Regions from separate parts of the Homo sapiens genome. Here region 1 is linked to region 2. Evidence: promoter capture Hi-C in human tissues and cell types (Jung and others, 2019). All regions are on one chromosome and are shown on one strand. Each heading gives the region's core, a stretch centred on a gene start or on the middle of the fragment in contact. The rest is flanking DNA. Distances are from core to core; before and after follow the strand shown. Region 1 has its middle 40 kb from the start of ACSL3. Region 2 holds the start of SGPP2 (sphingosine-1-phosphate phosphatase 2).

Region 1 (5,429 bases), core at 1,909-4,408, 400 kb after region 2:
ACCTTCCCTAAAATGGATAAATAGTATTTTCACTATCTGTCCTCTCTTTTTAGCAAAGCAATATCCTCTGAAAAAGTAAGAAGGAAAGATCTCAAGTGTATAGAATTATCCTTCTCATGTCAAATTACTTGTATTATTAATATAGGCTGGGTCGGCTGGGCGCGGTGGCTAAAGCCTGTAATCCCAGCACTTTCAGAGGCCAAGGCAGGCAGATCATGAGGTCAGGAGTTTGAGACCAGCCTGGCCAACATAGTGAAACCCTGTCTCTACTAAAAATACAAAAATTAGCTGGGTGTGGTGGCATGCACCTGTAATCCCAGCTATTTAGGAGGCTGAGGTGGGAGAATTGCTTGAACCCAGGAGGCGGAGGTTGCGGTGAGCCGAGACCATGCTATTGCACTCCAGCCTGGGTGACAGAGTGAGACTCCGTCTAAAAACAAATTTTTATATATATATATATATATATATATATATATATATATATATATATATATATATATATATATGTTTCAAATCCAATACATTGGCTTTATCTATATAATTGGTTTTCATGATCAGTGTCATTTCATTTCCTACAGGAATAGCAGGGCAGGCACTTAAATAATGTCTTTACCAGACTTACCTTCTGTCCCCAGTAGATAGAAATTTGTAAAAGGCTGTTGAAAAAAATGTCGAAAGTCAGAAAAGCCTGTCATCTGAAGCTTCAGTTTCTGTAGAATGGGGCTTGTTGCCTTAATCTTTGTATTTCTGCAAAGTCTCTTTGCTTCTTAGGTTAGTTGTACAAATTACAATCCATTTATCATTCAAGTGTAAGTGTGAAAACGCCTTCTAGGGCAATTATTGAGAAAAGACTGAGTCTCTGACAAAAATAAATACTGACTTAGAACCAGACAGAAACTGTATATTACTAGGAAACCTTTCTCATTAATGGATCAATGAGATCAATCAGTAATTAAGCACTTCCCACAACTCAACACAGAACTCCCTCAATAGCAAAGCCAGTAAAAAATGAGTTTTTACTCATTTTTTTAGGCTAATTTCAAGAAATAGGAGAAAACAAAGAGACCAAAGAAACTAAGAAATCACTGCAATGATAATATGGGAGTCATTATAGGCAGGATTTGGGGACATTTGCCTTCACTTATTCTGGCCTGGTAGATAAATTGGGTCCTGTTTTTTTTCTGCAGCCTTATGTAACAGTCTTACTTTTTCAGGTTGAATGGAGTTCACAGTGGTTCTTAACCTCATTTTCTTCTAGCTAAAAGTTATGACTCATTTATATCTGCAATTGCCTCACCCTTTCATTTTTCAGTGGAGCTAAGGCATCGGGATTATGGGTGGGAGGCAGATCCTCAACAAGAAGCCTGAGGAATGGACTGGAAGATACTAAGGCTGGCAAAGGAACACAGGCTTCTGCCTGCTTTGTTTTCCAGAACTCGGTCTTCCTTTTCTTGGAATGTTGTCTTCATTCTATCTCATCTTAAAAGTCACCTCCTCCAGGCAGCCTTCCCTGACTCTCCAGACCCTCTGTCCTTATTCTTCTTCATCTAGGCATGTGATTATATCACTCCCTGGACCTTAAGGTCATGAAAACTGTGACTTTGTTTTGCCCACAAGTGGCACTGCCAAGATATCACATAGTGCCTGGTGCATAGCAGGTACTGTAAACATGTAGTGAATGTGTGGATTACATCTCTTTTCCGGCATCGAATCCTAAGTTCTGATTGGGTTTGTGAGGCCTGAGTCTGAGTTGTTGGCAAAAGTGAAATTTCCCCAGCACTTAGCAGAGTATCTTCCTTTTTCATCTTGCCTCTCCTTCAGTTGTCCTTCTTACTCACTCATTCCCATTTCAAGCTTGGCTCAAAAAGTGCTAAGTATGGCTTCAATATTTTGCTGATGAAATGGTATCTTTTTATTATCTGGCTAAATATCTTCCTAACCCTGTCATATTCTCTGTAAAAAAGAGATAAGAATTCAGTTATAAAGCCCTTTGAATAAGTTGATTATGATTTTTATAAACTGAAAATAAAATACTGACGTTGAGTGAGTTCAATTATTGCTATAATTGCAGGGAGTCATCTTTTCTGAAATCAAATTTGTAACTTAATCCTTTCAAGAAAAGTAATATTTTGACTATGGCTGGTAATCAGACAAAGAAAAAGTCTTAAATTATAACAGAAAGGCCCAATTAACATTCAAAATTGATTTGCCACCCAGATCATCTAATGGTATCAAGTACAGCATTATTTTCACAAAATGTTTAAAATCGAGGGGGAGATAAAAATTGTGTGAAGCATTTTACCTGAAGTATTAATTAAATGCAATCATTTAATAAGTTAAGAATGTTTAAAAATTTTTTAAATATCCATTTTAATATAGAAATAGAGCTGGGTGCGGTGGCTGACGCCTGTAATCTCAGCACTTTGGGAGGCTGAAGTGGGCGGATCACCTGAGGTCGGGAGTTTGAGACCAGCCTGACCAACACGGAGAAACCCCGTCTCTACTAAAAATACAAAATTAGCTGGGCATGATGGCGCATGCCTGTAGTCCCAACTACTCAGGAGGCTGAGGCAGGAGAATCACTTGAACCTGGGAGGCGGAGGTTGCGGTGAGCTGAGATCGTGCCATTGCACTCCAGCCTGGGCAACAACAGTGAAACTCTGCCTCAAGAAAAAGAAAAAAAAAAGAAATAGAAATGAGGTCTCACTATGTTGTTCAGTCTGGTCTTGAACTCCTGAGCTCAAGTGATCCTCCTGCCTTGGCCTCCCAAAGTGCTAGGATTACAGGCATGAGCCACCACACTCAGCCTAAAATTTTTAAAAATTTGCTCTGGAAATATTAGCAATGTAACAACTTTCAGAATAACAGATGTAGAATAGTGAGAAAATTGATTAAAACTATTAAACTAATTTTTAGGTTAATAATTACAGTTGATCTTCTTTATCTGCAGGTCTACATCCACTAATTCAACCAAAAGTGCATTGAAAACATTTTTTTAAATGGCTGAGTGCAGTGTCTCATGCCTGATATCCCAGCACTTTGGGAGGCCAAGGCGGGCAGATCACCTGAGGTCAGGAGTTTGAGACCAACCTGGCCAACATGGCGAAACCCCGTCTCTACTAAAAATACAAAAAAATTTAGCTGGGCATGGTGGTGTGTGCCTGTAATCCCAGCTACTTGGGAGGCTGAGGCAGGAGAATCAACTGAACCTGGGAGGCGGAGGTTGCAGTGAGCCAAGATCGCATCGCTGCACTCCAGCCTGGGCGACAGAGGGAGACTCTATCACAAAAAAAAAAAATTTTATATATATATATATATTTAAAAACAAACCATAGAAAATGAAACGACAAAGAATAATACAAATTAAAAAACAATACAGTATAATAATTACATACATAGCATTTACATTGCATTAGGTATAAGTAATCTAGAGATGATTTAAAGTATACAGGAGGCTGTACATAGATTATAAGGAAATACTATACCATTTTAAATAAGCGACTTGAGCATTCATGGATTTTGATATCCACAGGGTGGAATTCAATTCCTGGAACCAATTCCTTGTGGATACCAAGAGATGACAATATGTTGCTATATAAATTGGCTATACGGATTTTTCCATCAGTATATCACATTAACGAAGTTTAATTTATCCTTTCATCATATTTTTAACTCAGTGTGATTAAAAATACATTAATACTACTTATTTTTCCAATTCATTTTTTTTATATTGCAGGGAGAAATTTCTGAAAGATTTTACCCAAGAAGGAGAGTTCTTAAATAAGTAGTTAAGAGTGGTTAAATAAGCCAACTTAAAGAAGTAGAATGTGAACTAGTTTTATTTTTAAAGTTTGTTTTACCTGATCAAGAACTTTCAACTTATAACTTAGTTAAAATATTAAAACGTTAGGCCGGGCGCTGTGGCTCACGCCTGTAATCCCAGCACTTTGGGAGGCTGAGGCAGGCGGATCACGAGGTCAGGAGATCGAGACCATCCTGGCTAACACGGTGAAACCCTGTCTCTACTAAAAATACAAAAAAAGTTAGCCGGGCATGGTGGCGGGCGCCTGTAGTCCCAGCTTCTTGGGAGGCTGAGGCAGGAGAATGGTGTGAACCCAGGAGGCGGAGCTTGCAGTGAGCTGAGATCGAGCCACTGCACTCCAGCCTGGGCGACAGAGCGCGACTCCATCTCAAAAAATATATATATATATTAAAACGTTAAGGAGGGAGAAACATTAAGGTATGAATAACAATATAAAGACAGTCTGTATCACATATTTTTCAGAGCTAAAAATAAACAAATGTAAGACATTATTCAATGGCGGGCATGCTTATGCAAACCTAAACCCAAAGTCTGAGGAGGCGGAGAGGCTGAAGAAAGAGGCTGAAATACCTGGTGTCTCAAAAAGAAATGTTTAATAGGGGCTTACCAACAGAACGATATAGTCTTAGGTGGCGGCAAGACCACATGGTGAATCCTGGCACCATTACCCCCCCAGATCCAGGGCATACGTATCACAGGGAAAGGGTGTATGCGATTCAGAGGGGATGTGTAGACAACTGAAGTATGATAACATCAAGGCTATTTTGACCCAAGGGTGGAATACACCGTAAATACATGCTCTTACCTAAAGAACAATAGATAAACTGGAAAGCTTAGAGGCCTTCCCAGAACTGGGGCTAATCAGAAGATAACATGGCAGATGAGCATCCAAGATGGAGTTACTTTTGCCTCCACGGATGTACTAAATTGAACCGAGTGTATATGCAAGTAAAGGTTAACTGCATTCTGTTGTAGTCTGGTCTTGAATGCAGAGAGGATTCTTGTATTGAAGCAAACATGCCTGTTTGGTCATTAATGGATCTAGCGTGTAGAATATCCAGCACTGGCTGAGATCATAGCATGATATTATTTTAATTAGTATGATGTGCTTGATCATGTTCAAAGTTCAAATAAGGTCACATCTTCCTTTAATAATCAAGTTACTTAATCACTGGGGCGCTACTTGCCCAGATGTGCAGAATTCTGCTTTCTCTCTTGAGGGCTTCTCCCAAGAACACTAAGAGGTTACAGAGTCCAGCCAGGCCAGTCCTGCTTCCAAATATCTTGCCAAGGGAGCCTGGGAAAGCTGACTAGTTCACTGGTAGATTTCGCATTTTCTGAGGCTGTGGCTTTTGTGCATGGGCCCAGGTTTCCACTCTGTTTGGCCACAGTTCCCAAAAGCACATCTTCCTTGTCAGAGTAAGCCATGCACTCTGCTGGAACCAGCTCTCAATAATCTAGACCTTGATATTGAGCTTAGGAGTCTAGGCCAGTTCACCCTTTTCTTCTTGGCCAGATTCTCCTTGCAGACCATCTCAGTCCCATATACAGAATCTGAACCCCAAAAGGGTAGGAATTATAAATCTCTACATTTTCCCCAAAGCTT
Region 2 (5,868 bases), core at 1,470-3,969:
CTGATGGAATGTTAGTGAAAGTGATGTGTGAACTTCTGCCTCACTTGCTTAATAAGACATTGCTGCTCAGAACACTCTCTCTCTTCACCCTTTCAGGAGCTGAACTTCAGATGTTCAGCCCTAACCCAGATTCAACCATGCAAAAGAGGACGATGACCTAAGGCTCAGTTTCAGGGCATGGTGGAGCAATAAGATGAAAAGAACCAGAGTCATGGAGTAGGGCCATGGAGCAGAGCTTCCTACTAACCTCAACTGCTTGCCTTAGAACCATTCTATGAAAGAGAAATACATGTCTGTGTTCCTTAAGCCACTCTATTTTGGGGTCTCTTTGTTATAGTAGCTTAACCTTTATCCGAACTAGTATTAATATATCCATCATTGATTCCTTTTAAATATGTCATTTTGTAATTGTTACATATATACAAGTGAGCAAAGTACAAATAACTGGATTTCTGCCCTGGCAAAAAAAAAAAAAAAAAAAAAAAAAAAAGGTCGGGGGGCGGGATGTGAAATGTATTTCCCACAGGTATGACTAGTGTTCAGTGATCAAAGAACTACAGGGTGTTTCTCTGGTATCAAGAAAAAAAAATTTTTTGCATGACTGCAAGCTACTATTTGATATCTCTGCACCATTACAGCAGTCTTTCAGTCCTACCACTTCTCAAAGATGTTGATTTTTGTTAGGTTGGTTGGGAAATTCATGTTCAGAATAATCAGACTGGGCCTTAGAAAAAAAAGGTTCTGGGGAAATGGACTTTACCACTGCCCAGGAGGCTCAAGATGTCCTACTCAAGATGTTCAGAGCCAAATTCTCTTGAGGATTCCTTCCTAGATTGAATGACTCCAGCACAATACACCTTCTTATCATGATCTCACTAGGCCTTATAGAGCTTGTCTCAAGGTTATTTTTACAAGAGCCTTATAAGAAAGACAAGAAGTGAGGATTATCATTTCATTACAGGGATAAACTGCGACATATGGTGACTTACATCAGGTGACTTGGTGAGCCACTAGAAGCTGGAATCAGTAACTGATCCTCCATGGAGATAAAATGCTCTGTCTACAAATACAATTCTTTGGCAATTAACTTAATGCTGCGTGTGCCATGTTTTGCTTTGCCTATTTTTCCTAACTGGTAGAAAGAAAAATCGAAGCACTAAATTCGGGAGACACATGATGCAAGTGCCTTCACAGGAAAACATATTTCTTTAACACATAAGCAGAACAGGTCCCCAACGATCACAGCTCCAGCTTCTAAAACCAAACCACAGGGTTTTGCCTCACACCTGTAAATGACAGCCAGAAGCATTGTGGAGAGATGCTTCCACCTCCTGGGCCGGACATTTCTGTGTGTGATCCCGCCAGACATGACAATAACTCTGCGTGTCTTCTGTAAGAGGAAAATGGTTTCCCTTAAGAGCTTCAGCATTCTCTCAGTCCCCTTGACTTTGCTCTCCAGACAGGACTGAGAAGCAAGAAAAGTAGAAACTAGGGCATGAAGGGGACTACATCATCCTGGAAAGTCACATCCCAAAGACATTCAGGCCTAAAAGGACAACTGAATAAATAAGGCATTGACAGGTGTTCATTAATCATTTGTGCAACCAAATTCTTAGTAGGCTTTGCATGGACAATCAGGAAACATGCAGGTTTCTGCTGCAAACGAAAGACGGGGTTGAATTGCACTTTTGTTGCAGACTGATCACCTGGGCCTAATTTGATTGTTGCCTCCCAAGGGATCTCTGAGCCCAGGAGGGAAATGTAGGAGGGAGGAGGGAAAACCAAGGCCGGCCTGCAGGATGTTTCCTTTGCTATCTTCTGCTGAGTGCTCTAAAGCAGGTGCAGGTGCAATGAGATACCTAATCCTGTCCCCAGTCCTCCAGCACTTTGTTCTCTTCTCGTTTAAACTCCCTAAATGGTCTGGTGGGGTTTTCCCAGTGTCATTGCTTAAAGAGAGGCAGAGCGGAAAGAAAGAAGTAGGAGAAAGCGGTAAGCATCTTTGTTCTCAATGCGGAAAACCCAGAAGGGACTTTCCTTCCCACCCACCTGAAAATGTTCCCCAGTTGCCAAATCAGAAGGGCAGGGGCAGCGACGCGGAAGATGACTCAGGGCCCACTTTGAACCTCCTGGGTACTTGAGCAAGCTCAAGGGTGTTCGGACCTCTAGGGAGACGTTGCATCACGCAGTTTGGAAAGAACTTGGGAATTCTCCCTGGGGGGCTCGCTGTATTTACTGGGAACTAGTCTTGCAGGAAGGTGAGAGTACGTGGCTGGCTGTGGGGAGCTGGCGTGGGAGGAAATCCGACTTCACCTTGGGCTCAGAGTTGCAAGGAAGGTCACTGTGGGATCAGCCTGAGCCCAAAAGGATGGGCTAATGGGAGCGGCCGCAGGTGCACGCGCGCTCGGCCGCTCCCATTAGTGTTACGTCTGCCGGGGGAAGAAGGTGGGGTGGGGGGTTGGGGGCGCCGGGAGAAGAGAGGCGCAGTTCGGAGATCGGCACTCCTCCGTCCAGTTACAGGCGGTCCTGCCCCCGTGGCCGCCCGGGGCCGCCCAAGCCCTCCGGGACGGAGAGAAAGGGGGACGCGTTGCGCAAGGTGGAGGCAGACACCTGGGCGGGCGCTAGGACCCGGGCGGCGCACCTGTTGGCTGGGCCCGGGGCCCCGCCCGCCCGGCCTCCGCCCGGAGTGCGGGATCGGCGGGGGCGAGGCGGGAGTGGCGGTGCCAGCGGAGGGCACCGGCCCGGCGTGGCAGCGGCGGCGGAGCGCGGCCCCGGGCACACCATGGCCGAGCTGCTGCGGAGCCTGCAGGATTCCCAGCTCGTCGCCCGCTTCCAGCGCCGCTGCGGGCTCTTCCCCGCTCCGGATGAAGGCCCCCGGGAGAACGGCGCGGACCCCACGGAGCGCGCGGCGCGGGTCCCCGGGGTCGAGCATCTCCCCGCAGCCAACGGCAAGGGCGGCGAGGCTCCGGCCAACGGGCTGCGCAGAGCCGCGGCGCCGGAGGTAACCATGGGCAGGTGTTCGCCGGGTACGGGGAGGGGGCGGCTGCGGACGTGCGGGTCCCTGCGACTCCGCCACGCGGGGCCGGCCGGGCCGAGAGGGCGCCGTCCCCGGCAGTGACCCGGCTCCCGCCGCTGCGAGCGGACGGGGAGGCCTGGCCTTCCAGTAACCAGGATGCCACCCTCCAACGCTGCCAGGGGCAACCGGGTCTATTGAGATATCCCCAGACGCTTTCAATGCAGTCCATTTAGAGACTTCCCACTTTCAAAAGTAGTTAAATTCACGTAGATGCCAGCAAATATGTAAGAGTTACGTAATGGAACGGAGGAGCGGGGATGTCCTTGGCACTTCCCCGGGGAGACGTTCTTAGACTCCCCCCCACCCCCGTATTCTTGCATTTCCGCCCATCCCCCTTCCCTGATGCGCACAAATGCGGGTGCAGCCGGGCTCAGCGCGCTCCTCACCGCGCTGCACCGCCAGCTCTGGGCACAGAACTTGGGGCTCACACAGCTCCTAGAGAGATTTACAACCTCCCTGCACTACCCCCGGCGATGATGTCTTAACAGCAACTCTCGCTTGCCCTCCCCCAGAGTCTGGGGGTCCCTCCTGCCTGGTGGGTCTTTTATGGACCGACACCAGTGACTTCTAACAGATGCTTCTGGGAGGGAAGCTCGCTACGCTCCCGCTAGGTGTTCAAAGCGTGGTTATACAACCCACTGCGGCTTGGGGGGAACCAGCGTGCGTCGTCGTCGCAGTGCACAGGGACTTTAGGCAGCAGGGACCAGACGGGCTGCACTTGGCTTCTGGGGACGCATGTCTACCGGGAGCACTGGCAGCACCTGCCTTTTCCCTCGGCAAAGTCAAAAGTGTGGCGCAGGAGAACAGAAATAAACGTATTAATAATTCGAATTCCTTGTACACAGCCACATTTTGTTCTTCCTAGAAGGTTTTGGTGAAAGAAAGGTGGCCTTTACTTACGTGTAAATTTCTAGATGTAGTAACTGAGGAATTACGAAGAACCTGGCTTCTGTGTGGAATGGAATATTATAGGCATTGGATTACAGAATTTGTTTGGGAGGGTGAGGGTGGTTGTGTGTTCTACTCCAGAGAAATCCTCCTCTGTATTTTTTCCTCTTTATTGTTCCTTCTTTATCCCATGTGACATTCCGGTAACCTATAGATGAGTATGAGAACCCCTCTTTTTTCTCTTGCCTTGTCTTAAAAACGGGGCAGAGTAGGGGGGATAAGAAATCAGCTGGGCGTGGTGGTGCGGCCTGTAGTTCCAGCTACTCCGGAGGCTAAGACAGGAGAATAGCTTGAGGCGGAGGTTGCAGTGAGCCAAGATCACGCCACTGCACTCCAGCCAGGGCGACTGAGCGAGACTCCGTCTCAAAAAAAAAAAAAAAAAAAAAAAAAGACCAAAACAAACAAACAAACAAACAAAAAACAGTCCCATGGCTGAAACGTGCCGTGACATATTCGGTGCACACACTGTTTACACCCACAGGTAGACACGTGAGTTGCTTTCTGTTGCTCTCTTCACAAGCTTCTACCCTGTTTCTCTAATTCAGGAAGCTGAAAAAGAGTGAATTGTTCCACCAGTGCTTCTCAAACTGTTTTAAACATCACCCCTGGTAACTTAACTTTAAACTCCACAGTTGGATCCTCTTGACCTTTAAAAGCAAGCTAAGCAGATTTCTTACACAGTTTTATCTTCTTACTGCTTGACAATCCTGGTGGGTCTTCAGTGAGTGAAATTGTGGCGGTTTCCCCACACCCACCCAGCCAACACAGGACTTCTGCTTACAGATCATGTAAAAGCAAGAAAGCTGAATGCCCAAGATAAGAAATCATTGTGTTGGTATATAATGGGGGAAATCATAAACTTGAGAGTGCTTGATAAATGAAAGGTTAATTAATGTTTTTACAGGTGGGTTGGTTTCAAATGACTTGGGAAGATTAATCCTTTACATACACACATTGATTCCCCCCCTCAAAAATTATCTCTTATCTACACTCAGGCAATTTACAGGACTTTAAGGGGGCAGTTGTGAAAAGTGTGCTGCCCTCTCTGCAGGCCTTTGTACAGGCGTTGGCCTGCCTGAGCTGCCTGTCTTTTCTCTAAATATCCTCCCCACTCATCCTTCTATTTCCAAAGGTCAGTTCCTCCATGGGTGACTTCTCTGACCTTCCAGCCTAGCTCCCCCTGCTATAGTTTTTCTTTGCTTTCTGCATTTCTTCATTACAGCATTTATCACGTTGTTTAAATGTGCCTTTGTGTGGATATCTGATTATTCCCCGCCCCTCCAGAGGATGATAAACTCTAAGAATGCAGGCAACTTTTCTGTTATGGTCCTTATTTTTTTCTCATAGCCTGGCACGTAGGAGGGACTAGTGACTTTTGTGAATACATGCATGTAGATTGCAATATAAAATTATAGTTTTAAACTTTTTTTTTAAGAGACAGGGTCTTGCTGTGTCACCCAGGGTGGAGTGCAGTGGCACAATCATAAGTCACTGCATCTTCCACATCCTGGACTCCTGCAGTTCTCCTGCCTCAGCCTCCTGTGTAGCTAAGACTACGGATGCATGCCATCATCTGGTTTGTTGTTGTTGTTGTTGTTGTTATTGTTGTTTTTTGTAGAGACAGGGTCTCACTATGTTGCCAAGACTAGTCTTAAACTCTTGGCCTCAAGTGATCCTTCTGCCTCAGCCTTGCAAAGTGCTGAAATTATAGACGTCAGTCACTGTGACTGGCGATGTTTCGTTTTTCTTTAAAAAAAAATGAGTGAATGTTGAAAATCAAGTGATTTTTCCGCATAGCCTAGAAGGTAGCACCAGGACGTTGATTTAGGACCCTTCAAACAATAGAG

The links. Contacts are between HindIII fragments. The study calls those that stand out against the background at their distance.
Region 1: a contact is called between a fragment that was not itself captured here and the fragment with the promoter of SGPP2 in region 2, in 1 of the 25 tissues and cell types used here (heart left ventricle).

The regions. Positions count from the first base shown.
Region 1 is chr2:222,818,633-222,824,061 of GRCh38, forward strand. No RefSeq gene overlaps it. Among named protein-coding and RNA genes, the nearest start is that of ACSL3, 40 kb to the right of the region's middle. The HindIII fragment of the contact is 3,763 bases long and covers 1,278-5,040 here.
Region 2 is chr2:222,421,824-222,427,691 of GRCh38, forward strand. It overlaps SGPP2 (sphingosine-1-phosphate phosphatase 2), which reads left to right and starts at 2,720. Exons shown (of 5, transcript NM_152386.4): 1 at 2,720-2,998. The coding sequence starts at 2,780. RefSeq lists enhancers at 1,964-2,263, 3,454-3,603, 3,654-3,713, 5,862-5,868 and silencers at 2,424-2,773, 2,864-3,093, 3,104-3,153. The HindIII fragment of the contact is 9,125 bases long and covers 1-5,868 here.